Regions from separate parts of the Homo sapiens genome. Here regions 2, 3 and 4 are each linked to region 1. Evidence: promoter capture Hi-C in 16 types of primary human blood cells and fetal thymus (Javierre and others, 2016). All regions are on one chromosome and are shown on one strand. The core of a region is centred on a gene start or on the middle of the fragment in contact, and the rest is flanking DNA. Distances in the headings are between cores, read along the strand shown. Region 1 holds the start of FLT3LG (fms related receptor tyrosine kinase 3 ligand). Region 2 overlaps LOC107985340 (a long non-coding RNA gene). Region 3 overlaps SLC6A16 (solute carrier family 6 member 16). Region 4 overlaps SLC6A16 (solute carrier family 6 member 16).

Region 1 (2,732 bases), core at 145-2,644:
AGATTCCCTAGAGGCAATAGGGCGATAGGGCAGGACACACATTGAGGGGCCCCAGGACTTGGTCAGGAAGGAGCTAGAGCAGGTCCTTTGTCCATGGGCCACATGAGCTATTGGGGCTTGTATCTCTGCCTCTCTGCTTCATTTAAATCTTTCTAGCCAGATGGAAGGTCTGACCATTGGGTGCGACAAGGCAGCTAACCCAGGCTGAACAGGAAGTGAGGCAGGCAGAGGGATCAGGGAAGGGAAATGGATGATGAAGGCCAGGACGGGCGAGGCTTTGCTGCAGTAACACATAACCCCCGAATCTGCGTGGGCCACAACCACAACATTAGTTTGTTGCTTACACTCCCTGTGCTCATCCGGGGCTGGCAGGATCCCTGTGCTCCTCCGAGTGGCACAGGAAACTTGGCTGATAGAGGCGCTCTCTCCATGCATCCTCCACCATCCACTCCCCGGTCCCTTAGACTTCCATTCAGAAGTGACACCTGTCACCTCCACCCTCATGTGACTGGCCAAAGTGAGTGTGGCCATGTCCGAGTTCCCCAGGATGGGACCTCGAATCCTCCTGCTGGGGGGGTGGGGGCAGCAGATGTTTCAGGACAGTCTGCCACGGATCAGATGGGTGAGCAAGAGATTCAGGATGGGCGTGATGGGTCACACCTGTAATCCCAGCATTTTGGGAGGCCGAGGCAGGCTGATCACCTGAGGTCAGGAGTTCGAGATCAGCCTGGCCAACATAGTGAAACCTCGTCTCTACTAAAAATACAAAAATTAGCCGGGCATGGTGGCACGCACCTGCAATTCCAGCTACTTGGGAGCCTGAGGCACAAGAATTGCTTAAGCCCAGGAGGCGGAGGTTGCCGTGAGCCGAGACTGTGCCACTGCACTCCAGCCTGGGCAACAGAGTGAGACCCCATCTAAAAAAAAAAAATGCTTCAGAGATTCAGAGATCCACAGATGTGGAAGAGAGCTTCTATTTTGTCTCATGTACCACCTCACCCCTCAGTTTGGAGTTGGAGAAGCCGAGGCTTAGAGAGGTCAAGGGGCTGGCCAAGCTCCCACAGTGATAAAGCTAGTGCTAGGGCGACACCTGCCAGGCCCAATGTGACAAGATGCATCCTGAGTCCTGTGTGCCAAGCCTTGGCGGGGCAAAGTTGGGGCCCGGAGGACGGTAAGACACAGCAACTGCGAGTTCCCAGAGACAGATCCGGGTTCCAGCCCCAGCTCACCATGCACTGGGCGTGCCACCCAGGGAGTCAGCCCCACTGCAGCCCCCGCTGCGGGGCGTCCGGAGAACGCGCCATCTGCGGCGTGAGCGGCCGCCTCTCACCACCAGGGGGCGCGCTCCGCCTGGGCCCAGATTCCACCCCTTGACTGTCTCCCCCCAAAAATTTCCTTTCACTTTCGGTCTCTGGCTGTCACCCGGCTTGGCCCCTTCCACACCCAACTGGGGCAAGCCTGGTGCGTGAGGAGACTTGGACTCTAGGTCCCCAAGGGGCGGAGCCAGGGTCCCCACTCCTGGGGCAGGGGGAGCAGAGGGTGGGGGGCTGGGTTCCCGGGTCCCTAACCTGGGGAGGGTTCTGGGGACCAGACGTCGAGGTTCTTAGAAGTGGAGATGAAGAGTTTTCACCGTAACTGGGGCAGACGCAGGAAGCCTGGGGGAGGAAGGGGCGGAAACTCAGCCACATCAATGGGACGCGGGAGGGGCGGGGAGGCAAAGGGGCGGGCAGGGCAGGGGCTGGGGCATGAGGGTCCGAGACTTGTTCTTCTGTCCCTTCCAAGACCCGGCGACAGGAGGCATGAGGGGCCCCCGGCCGAAATGACAGTGCTGGCGCCAGCCTGGAGCCCAACAGTGCGTAAACCCCAGGGACAAGATCAGGGGAGAGGGGAGGCACAATGTCAGGATGGGGCAGAGATGAGGGGAGATGGACGGGAGAACAGATGGACAGATGACGAGGAAATAGGAGGGGAGATGGACAGATGTGAGGGGAGATGGATAGGAGAGGAGACGGACAGAGGAGGGGGAGATGGACAGAGGATGGGGAGATGGACAGAGGAGGGGGAGATAGAGGAGAGGGAGATAGAGAGGAGTGGGAGATGGACAGGAGCGGGGAGATGGACAGAGGAGGGGGAGATGGACAGAGGAGAGGGCAGATGAACAGAGGAGAGGGAGATAAAGAGGAGGGAGGTGGACAGGAGGAGGGAGATGGACAGAGAAGGGGGAGATGGACAGAGGTGGGGGAGATGGACAGGAGGGAAGATGGAGAGGAGGGGGTATGGACAGAGGAGAGGGGAGATGGACAGGAGGGGGAGATGGACAGAGGAGAGGGAGATGAAGAGGAGGGGGAGGTGGACAGGAGGAGGGAGACGGACAGAGGAGAGGAAGAGAGACAGAGGAGGGGGGAGATGGACAGAGGAGGGGGAGATGGACAGAAAAGGGGGGAGATGGACAGAGGAGAGGGAAGGTGGACAGAGCCAAGAACAAATGAAGAGGACGTGGACCAAGATCAAGAGAGAAGCAGGCAACAGTGGTGTAGAAGGCAGAGGGAGGGACAGAGCTGGAGGAACCCGGGCGAGGAAACCAGACGTGAAGATGAGGTGGTTGGAGAGAGACCAGCAGAGTGGGGGAGATGGGGAGAGAGAGGGGTGGGGCAGAGGGGGATGCAAACTGGACAGCATTGGACCAGAGGCAGAGAGAAACCGGGAAAGACAGGCAGAGATGGGGCCATGTC
Region 2 (2,732 bases), core at 150-2,649, 230 kb before region 1:
CCACCACCCATGCCTAATTTTTTTTCTTTTTGTAATTTTAATAGAGACAGGGTTTTGCAACGTTGGCCAGTCTGGCCTCGAACTCCTGATCTCAGGTGATCCTCTCGCCTCAGCCTCCCAAAGGGCTGGGATTACAGGCATGAGCCACCGTGCCCAGCCACCTTGCACTTTTCTTTACGGAGATGGCTACTTTCCTTAAACCTCATGAACCAACCTCTCCTGGCTTCAGGCTTTTCTTCTGCAGCTTCCTCCTCTCAGCCCTCATAGAACTGAAAAGTGTTAAGGCTTTGCTCTGGATTAGGCTTTGGCTTAAGGGTTTTACCTTCTGTCCAGACAACACTTTCTCCATATCGGTAATAAGGCTGTTTGACTTCTTATTTTTTATTGATTGATTGAGACAGAGTCTCGCTCTGTTGCCCAGGCTGGAGTGCAGTAGCACACAATCTCAGCTCGCTGCAACCTCCACCTCCCAGGTTCAAGCAATTCTCCTTCCTCAGCCTCCTGAGTAGCTGGGACTACAAGTGTGCGCTACCACACCAGCTAATTTTTGTATTTTTCGTAGAGATGGGGTTTCACCATGTTGGTCAGGCTGGTCTTGAACTCTTGTCCTCAAGTGATCCACCCGTCTCAGCCTCCCAAAGCACTGAGATTACAGGTGTGAGCCACTGCATGCGGCCACTCCTTAGTTTTGTGTTCACTGGAGTAGTACTTTTGATATCTTTCAACTTTTCCTTTGCATTCACAACTTAGCTAACTGGTGCAAGAAGCCTAGCTTTTGGCCTGTCTTATCTTTTGATGAGCCTTCCTCATAATCATTTCTAGCTTTTGATTTAAAGTGAGAGATGTGTGACTCTTCCTTTCACTTGAACACTGCGAGGCCATTGTAGGGTTATTAACTGACCTAATGTCAATATTGTGTGTCTCAGGGAATAGGTAGGCCCAAGGAGAGAAAGAGATGGGGGAATGGCCGGTGGGTGGAGAAGTCAGAACACACGCAACATTTATTAAGTTTGCCATTTTATATGGGCATAGTTTGTGGTGGCCCCAGTGACAATAGAAACATCAAAGGCCACTGATCACAGATCACCATCACAGATGGAAGAATAATAATGAGGCCGGTGCGGTGGTTCACGCCTGTAATCTCAGCACTTTGGGAGGCCAAGGCAGGTGGATCACAATGTCAGGAGTTCGAGACCAGCCTGGCCAACATGGTGAAACCCCGTCTGTACTAAAAATACAAAAATTAGCAGAGCATGGTGGTGGGCACCTGAAATCCCAGCTACTCGGGAGGCTGAGACAGGAGAATCGTTTGAACCCAGAGGCGGAGGTTGCAGTGAGCCAAGATCACAAAATTGCCCTGCAGCCAGGGCACAGGGTGAGACTCTGTCTCAAAAAAAATAATAATAATGAAAAGATTTAAAATTTTATTGTGAGAATTACCAAAATGCAGCCCAGAGACACACAGTGAGCGCATGCCGTTAGAAAAAAATGGTGCTGATAGACTTGCTCAATGCAGGGTTGCCACAAACCTTTGATTTGTTAAAAAAAAAAAAATGCAGTATCTGTGAAGCACAATAAAGCTAAGTGCAATAAAATGAAGAGTGCCCTATAAGAGCTTAGTCACCCTTCACCTCGAGTCCTTGATTGTGATATCTTACCGTGTTTCCTTTATCATCACCGCCTTTCACATTTATTATAACAATACCTATTATGTAGCAGACCCATTTGAGAGTAAGCTGTAGACATGATGCCCCTTTACTCCTAAATACTGCAGTGCGTATTTCCAGAACGGGGACATTCACCTGTGTAACCACAGTGCCATTGAAATCATGAAAGTAACATCGATCTACTTCTATTATCTACAGACCTTATTCGTTTTTCCCAATTATTCCAATATGCTTTTTTTTTTTTTTTTGAGTTGGAGTCTTGCTCTGTCACCCAGGCTGGAGTGCAGTGGCGTGATCTCAGCTCACCAGAACATCTGCCTCCTGGGTTCAAGTGACCCTCGTGCCTCAGCCTCCTGAGTAGCTGGGATGACAGGCATGCGCCACCAGGCCCGTCTAATTATTGTATTTTCTGTAGAGATGAGATTTTGCCATGTTGGCCAGGCTGGTCTCGAACTCCTGACCTCAAGTAATCCGCCTGCCTCTGCCTCCCAAAGTGCTGGGATTACAGATGTGAGGCACTGCGCCTGGCCTAGTCTGTTTTTCTTTTTTCTTTTTCTTTTTTTTGAGACAGTCTCTTGCTCTTGTCACCCAGGCTGGAGTGCAATGGTGTGATCTCAGCTCACTGCAACCTCTGCCTCCTGAGTTCAAGCAATTCTCCTGCCTCAGCCTCCTGAGTAGCTGGGATTACTGGCACCCACGACCACACCCGGCTAATTTGTGTATTTTTAGCAGAGATGCGGTTTCACCACATTGGCCAGGCTAGTCTCAAAGTCCTGACCTCGGGTGATCCCCCCACCTCGGCCTCCCAAAGTGCTGGGATTACGGGCGTGAGCCACCGTGCCCAGCCCCCTGTGAAGTATTAAGAAGGGCACTGGGGCTTCCTGTAGCACTTGGAACAGTGTTCTCAGTGCCCATACGTGTCACCACCCTAATCTCACACAAAAAAGACCTCAGGTGATCCGCCTGCCTCTGCCTCCCAAAGTGCTGGGATTACAGATGTGAGGCACTGCGCCTGGCCTAGTCTGTTTTTCTTTTTTGTTTTCTTTTTTTTTTTTCCACTGGAGC
Region 3 (2,732 bases), core at 96-2,595, 180 kb before region 1:
GCCACTCCAGCCATGGCTGAAAGGGGCCAACGTACAGCTCGGGCTGTGGCTTCAGAGAGTAGAAGCCCCAAGCCTTGGCAGCTTCCACGTGATGTTGAGCCTGCGGGTGCACAGAAGTCAAGAATTGAGGTTTGGGAACCTCCGCCTAGATCTCAGAAGATATATGGAAATGCATGGATGTCCAGGCAAAAGTTTTCTGTAGGGGCAGAGCCCTCATGCAGAACCTCTGCCAGGGAGGGAAATGCAGAAGGGAAACGTGGGGTCAGAGCCCTCACACAGAGTCAGAGTCCCTACTGGGGCACTGCCTAGTGGAGCTGTGAGAAGAGGGCCACTGTCCTCCAGACCCCAGAATGGTAGAACCACTGACAGCTTGCACCCTGAGCTTGGAAAAGCCACACTCAACACCAGCCCGTGAAAGCAGCTGGAAGGGGGACTGTACCCTGCAAAGCCACGAGGTGGAGCTGCCTAAGACCATGGGAACCCACCTTTTGCATCAGCATGACCTGGATGTGAGATCTGGAGTCAAAGGAGATCATTATGGAGCTTTAAAATTTGACTCCCCTGCTAGATTTTGGACTTGCATGGGCCCTGTAACCCCTTTGTTTTGGCCAATTTCTCTCATTTGGAATGGCTGTATTTACCTGATACCAGTACCCCCATTGTATCTAGGAAGTAACTAGCTTGTTTTTGATTTTACAGGCTCATAGGTGGAAGGGACTTGCCTTGTCTCAGATGACACTCTGGACTTTTGGATTAATGCTGAAATGAGTTGAGACATTGGGGGACTGTTGGGAAGGCATGATTGCTTTTGAAATGTGAGGACATGAGATTTGGAGGGGCCAGGGGCAGAATGATATGGTTTCACTGTGTCTCCATTTAAATATAAACTTCAATTATATCTCCCAGAATTCCCACGTGTTATGGGAGGGAACCAGGGGAGGTAATTGAATCATGGGGGCTGGTCTTTTCCATCCTAATCTCGTGATAGTGAATAAGTCTCATGAGATCTAATGGGTTTATCAGGGGTTTCCACTTTTGCTTCTTCCTCATTTTTTTCTCTTGCTGCCATCATGTAAGAAATGCCTTTCACCTCCCACCATGATTGAGGCCTCCCCAACCATGTGGAACTGTAAGTCCAGTTAAACCTCTTTTTGTTCCCAGTTTCAGGTATGTCTTTATTAGCAGTGTGAAAATGAACTAATACAGACTGGAAGCCTTGTGACAGGAAAACTGAACATCTGAGACATCTATAGGAAAAAAAGATCTGCTTACATCCAGTCCTTGGAGTTCCAGTAGACTGATTTATTCACCAACAGCATTGCTCCTCCAGCTCCATTCCAGGAGACAGGCACCCCAGAAGTAGCAGGACTGGTAGACATCACTAGTATTGTATATGTGTTGTGCATGTATGTGTGTTGAGGAAGAGGATGGGGAAAACAATGATGGTGGTCACCAGGTAAGATGGGACCCAGGAAGGGATTGCAAGTCCAGGCCCCATGAACACCCCCAAAGAATGCCCCTCCTCTTGGAAATAAAAGTGGTTCTGGATCCAGGGAGATCAACAGTTGCAAGCTGATATTAAGAGTTGTCTATTGGATCTGTTCTAAGGGATATGTTATGTGAAGCCAAATTAATGAAGTTAGGAAGTCACATTACAAGTTGATGGGTACTTTGTTTCATCAACTTGTAGAATTTCTTCCTTTTGAACCTCTTTACTGGGTGTTAGCTGGTGACTTAGGGGTAGGGATGTGGAGGCTGTCATAGGCCCGTCTCCGCTCTTGGGCCTGAAGGGAATCCTATGTATGCGGCAGTATACAAAGTATGCAGGGATGGGGAGGATGACAATGGCAAAAAGGGTGATCATCAAGAGCAGTGCCCACGGTGGGTATGGTCGAAGCACCTCTTTTGACTGTGGAGAGATGGGAAAAGGGTTCAGAATATCAAAATCCCCAAGAGAAAAGGAAGAGTTGTGGAGGGGAAGGATGGGTGGGGAACCAAAGCAGAAAACCCATGAGTCTTCGGGCAGTAAGAGAATGAGATGACTGGGTTCTTTCACCCAGAGTGAATTGAAAGGTCTGGCCCCTACTCCCAAAGGGGTTCTGGGTCCTGGGGGAGGCTCACGGTGCTTGAGTCCCAGGACATGTAGGTGATCGGCTTCATACAAAGATGAACCATCATGGTCACAAAGATGATTAGCAGCACAACTGGACACAGATGGGGCCACAGCCAACCAAAGATGGGAGAGATGGGGTGGCCCAACAGGATCGTCAGGTCTGCAAGGAACCTGGAGAAGGGCCACCAGAGTGTGGGATGCCCAGTTAGGCCTCACCACCTTGGAGGCAGGGCCAGCCCAACCTTGGCATCTTTCAAACATTCTATTGTATCTCTAATCTCCTGTTTCATCTCAAGTCTTGTCCTCTCTCATCTTCCCCCTAGTCAGTCTGTCTTCTATCCTAACCCAAGAAACTTTTCCAAACACCCCTCTCCTGCTCAAGAACTTTCCATGGGTATCCAATGGCCTCAGGAGAAAGGCCAAGTCTCTTTCATTCATCCCATAAATATGAGAATGTCTATGATGTGCCAGGAACTCTTCTAAGTGCTGGATATCCAGCAGTGAACAACACAGATAAAATAAAGTGGCATTTGGCCCTTGGTGAACTTATCTAGTTTATTTCAGCCACCTATCCAGTCTCCTTTAGTACATATTCTCAATCTCAATAAATATACAAGTG
Region 4 (2,732 bases), core at 139-2,638, 160 kb before region 1:
GTAGAATACAAACTAATAAATGTACAAGGAACGATGAATTAGAAGGTCACTGCTTATCATAAACTAATCAAGTTGTACACATGAAATATGTACAGTTTTTTACTTGTCAATCATCCCTCAATAAATATGTCTTTTTAACAAATCATTGTTTGGAAATTACCAGAGTAATAACTGACACAAGCAAGAATCATCAATGGTTGCTAAAACAAGATGATGAAAATTTGATGGGGACAGGATAATTGCATAGTATTACTGTATCTCCCCACAAGATATTCCCCCCAAAAAAACCCAAGAAACTAGTATCTTTAGAGTATTACACACTACCTAAACCAATAATAGTCACCTGATATCATATAACTCCTGATACAATGCATTAAGAGCACAACATCATTTCTGTGGGATTCCTGCCAAAAACATGTAACAAAACTCCAATCGTGAGGAAACACCAGAAAACAAATCTAAATTGAAGTACATTCTGTAAAATAGCTGGCCTGTGCTCAGTAAAAATGTCACAGTCAATAAAGACAAGGAAAGATGGAAGTGTTGTAAGTCTGAAATTATGTCAAAATTTTGTTAAATTTTTTAAACTTCCAAGCACCTGCCACTCCTACAATTCACCATCAAAACAAAAGGAAGTTTCTTCTAAGATAGCCACATGAACACCAATCTCCAAACTTACCCACAATCTCCCCCTACCCAACAAAAAAAAAAACCAATGATTTTAAAATATTACAAATATGGGGATATCTGCATCATTTCTGAAAAATAGGTTCCATCCTCATGTCAAAAACAGAGAAACTTCTGCTACATAAACAAGAAACAGGACCAAACTGTAATCACTGAGGAGTCAGTTCACATCTCTTTTTCCTGATGAAGTGGTTCAGTGTTTCAGGAAGTAAGTAAATACTTTCCCAGCAACTTGTGGGAAATAAAAACAATCACTTGCCAAAGACCTTCTGCTCCAGTGAACCAACAGCTTCCAGAAGCTGTATGCCAGAGAATGCAACAGCAGGTGGGCCACTCCTCTGTTATTGGATTTATTGGAGTTATTGGTGGGTTGATGGGCGTCTCCCTGAGACAAATGATGCTTCCATAACATTAAGAGAGAAGCAGAAAATCATGCAGGGAAGAAAAGGCTGAAGAAAAAATTAGGTACAAAAATCCAGCCTTTGGGGCTGGTCATGGTGGCTCATGCCTGTAATCCCAGCCCTTTGGGAGGCTGAGGCAGGAGATGTTTTATGTAAGCTTCGTGGTAACTACAAAGCAAAAAACTCAGTAGAGATGATTCAAAGCATACCACTAGAGAAAATCAATATAATTAGTCACATTGATATAATAAAGAAGAAAAATATTATCATCTCAAGAGATATAGGAAAAACATACAATACAATGATGATTTACGGAGAAAAACTTTTAGCAAACCAGGAATAATTTCCCTAACCTGATAAATGGTGTCTCTCAAAAAAAAAAGATTATACTTAATAGTGAACATATGCTTAAACATAGGCACATATTTAATAATGAAGTGAAGAAAGCTTGCCTTTTGAAATCAAGAACAATCAATGAAACCAGCTATCAGCACTTCCTTCCCATTGCATTAAATATTTTAGACAACACAGGAAAGCAAGGGGAATAAAAGACAAAGATTAAACAAAACTCACTATTCACAGATGATATATCTATGTGGAAGATCCAGAATACTACAGATAAATTATTTAAATTAATAAGATAATTTAGCAAGATTGTTGGATGCAAACAGCAATAAATGAAAATTATTTATATGTCTATGCTTGCAATACATAATTAGAAAATAAAATTTTAAAATAATAATGCCACTTATAAAATAATTTTTTAAATATAGAGTAAAATCCTGGGAAGGTAATGGCAATAACAGCAACATTGTTTTAAAATCTTCCCAAATACTCACATGAAAACAAGTAGTTCTACTAGATTGCAAGCCCAAAATCCATGGATAATATTTACAATATCAAGATAAACCCCAAAAGACAAGTCTATGAGAACAAACCACAAGAGCCACAGACCTGTATAGAATCAGCATCTGTGTGGGAGGAAACAAAGGAAGCAAGAGAGCATCTGACAGACCTGGGGATGGGGGACAGGGAAACCAGTCTCTCAAAATAATCAACAGGTACTCACCAGAAATCATGGGAAGGCTATTAGAGAACAGCAGCTAAAACTAGAAGATGTCTTGCCTAATCCAATAACAGTTGAGTGCATGGAGTCAACAATAGAAACTGAAGGGACCAGGGCAGACTAGATTCTATGAACTCTTAAAATTAACCAACCAGGGATCTTTTCCAACCCAGAGGCCACAATGAGGAGAAATTCCTGTGAGTAAAGCCAAATTGAGCAATACAAGAACAAGAATGATGAAGGATAGGCCAGACACAGTGGCTCATGCCTGTAATCCTAGTACTTTGGGAGGCCAAGGCAGGAGGATCACTTGAGGCCAGGAATTCAAGATAAGCCTTGACAATGCAGTGAAAACCCATCTCTACCAAAAAAAAAAAAAAAAAATTAAAATTAAAATTAGCCAGGCATAGTGGGACACGCCAGTGGTCCCAGCTATTTGGGAGGCTAAGTGGAGAGGATCGCTTGAGCCCAGGAGTTCAAGGTTGCAGTGGGCTATGATCACACCACTGAACTCCAGCCTGAGCAACAGAGTGGGACCTCATTCTCTAAAAAAATAAAATAAAATAGGCCAGGTGCAG

What was found. Contacts are between HindIII fragments. The CHiCAGO score rates a contact against its expected background, and 5 or more counts as called.
Region 2: a contact is called between a fragment that was not itself captured here and the fragment with the promoter of FLT3LG in region 1, in 1 of 17 cell types (naive B cells). The highest score is 5.3, in naive B cells.
Region 3: a contact is called between a fragment that was not itself captured here and the fragment with the promoter of FLT3LG in region 1, in 2 of 17 cell types (total B cells and naive B cells). The highest score is 6.0, in total B cells.
Region 4: a fragment that was not itself captured here is called in contact with the fragment with the promoter of FLT3LG in region 1 in 2 of 17 cell types (total B cells and naive B cells); the score reaches 8.7 in total B cells.

Annotation. Positions count from the first base shown.
Region 1 is chr19:49,472,821-49,475,552 of GRCh38, forward strand. It overlaps FLT3LG (fms related receptor tyrosine kinase 3 ligand), which reads left to right and starts at 1,395. Exons shown (of 9, transcript NM_001459.4): 1 at 1,395-1,461; 2 at 1,783-1,852. The coding sequence starts at 1,820. RefSeq lists a silencer at 1,774-1,853. The HindIII fragment of the contact is 13,906 bases long and covers 1-2,732 here.
Region 2 is chr19:49,240,373-49,243,104 of GRCh38, forward strand. The region is part of intron 2 of LOC107985340 (a long non-coding RNA gene); the gene reads left to right. Among named protein-coding and RNA genes, the nearest start is that of MIR4324, 67 kb to the right of the region's middle. The HindIII fragment of the contact is 3,473 bases long and covers 1-2,732 here.
Region 3 is chr19:49,288,484-49,291,215 of GRCh38, forward strand. It overlaps SLC6A16 (solute carrier family 6 member 16), which reads right to left. Exons shown (of 12, transcript NM_014037.3): 11 at 2,122-2,284; 12 at 1,155-1,909. The coding sequence ends at 1,640. Among named protein-coding and RNA genes, the nearest start is that of MIR4324, 19 kb to the right of the region's middle. The HindIII fragment of the contact is 6,288 bases long and covers 1-2,732 here.
Region 4 is chr19:49,314,338-49,317,069 of GRCh38, forward strand. The region is part of intron 1 of SLC6A16 (solute carrier family 6 member 16); the gene reads right to left. Among named protein-coding and RNA genes, the nearest start is that of MIR4324, 6.8 kb to the left of the region's middle. The HindIII fragment of the contact is 290 bases long and covers 1,244-1,533 here.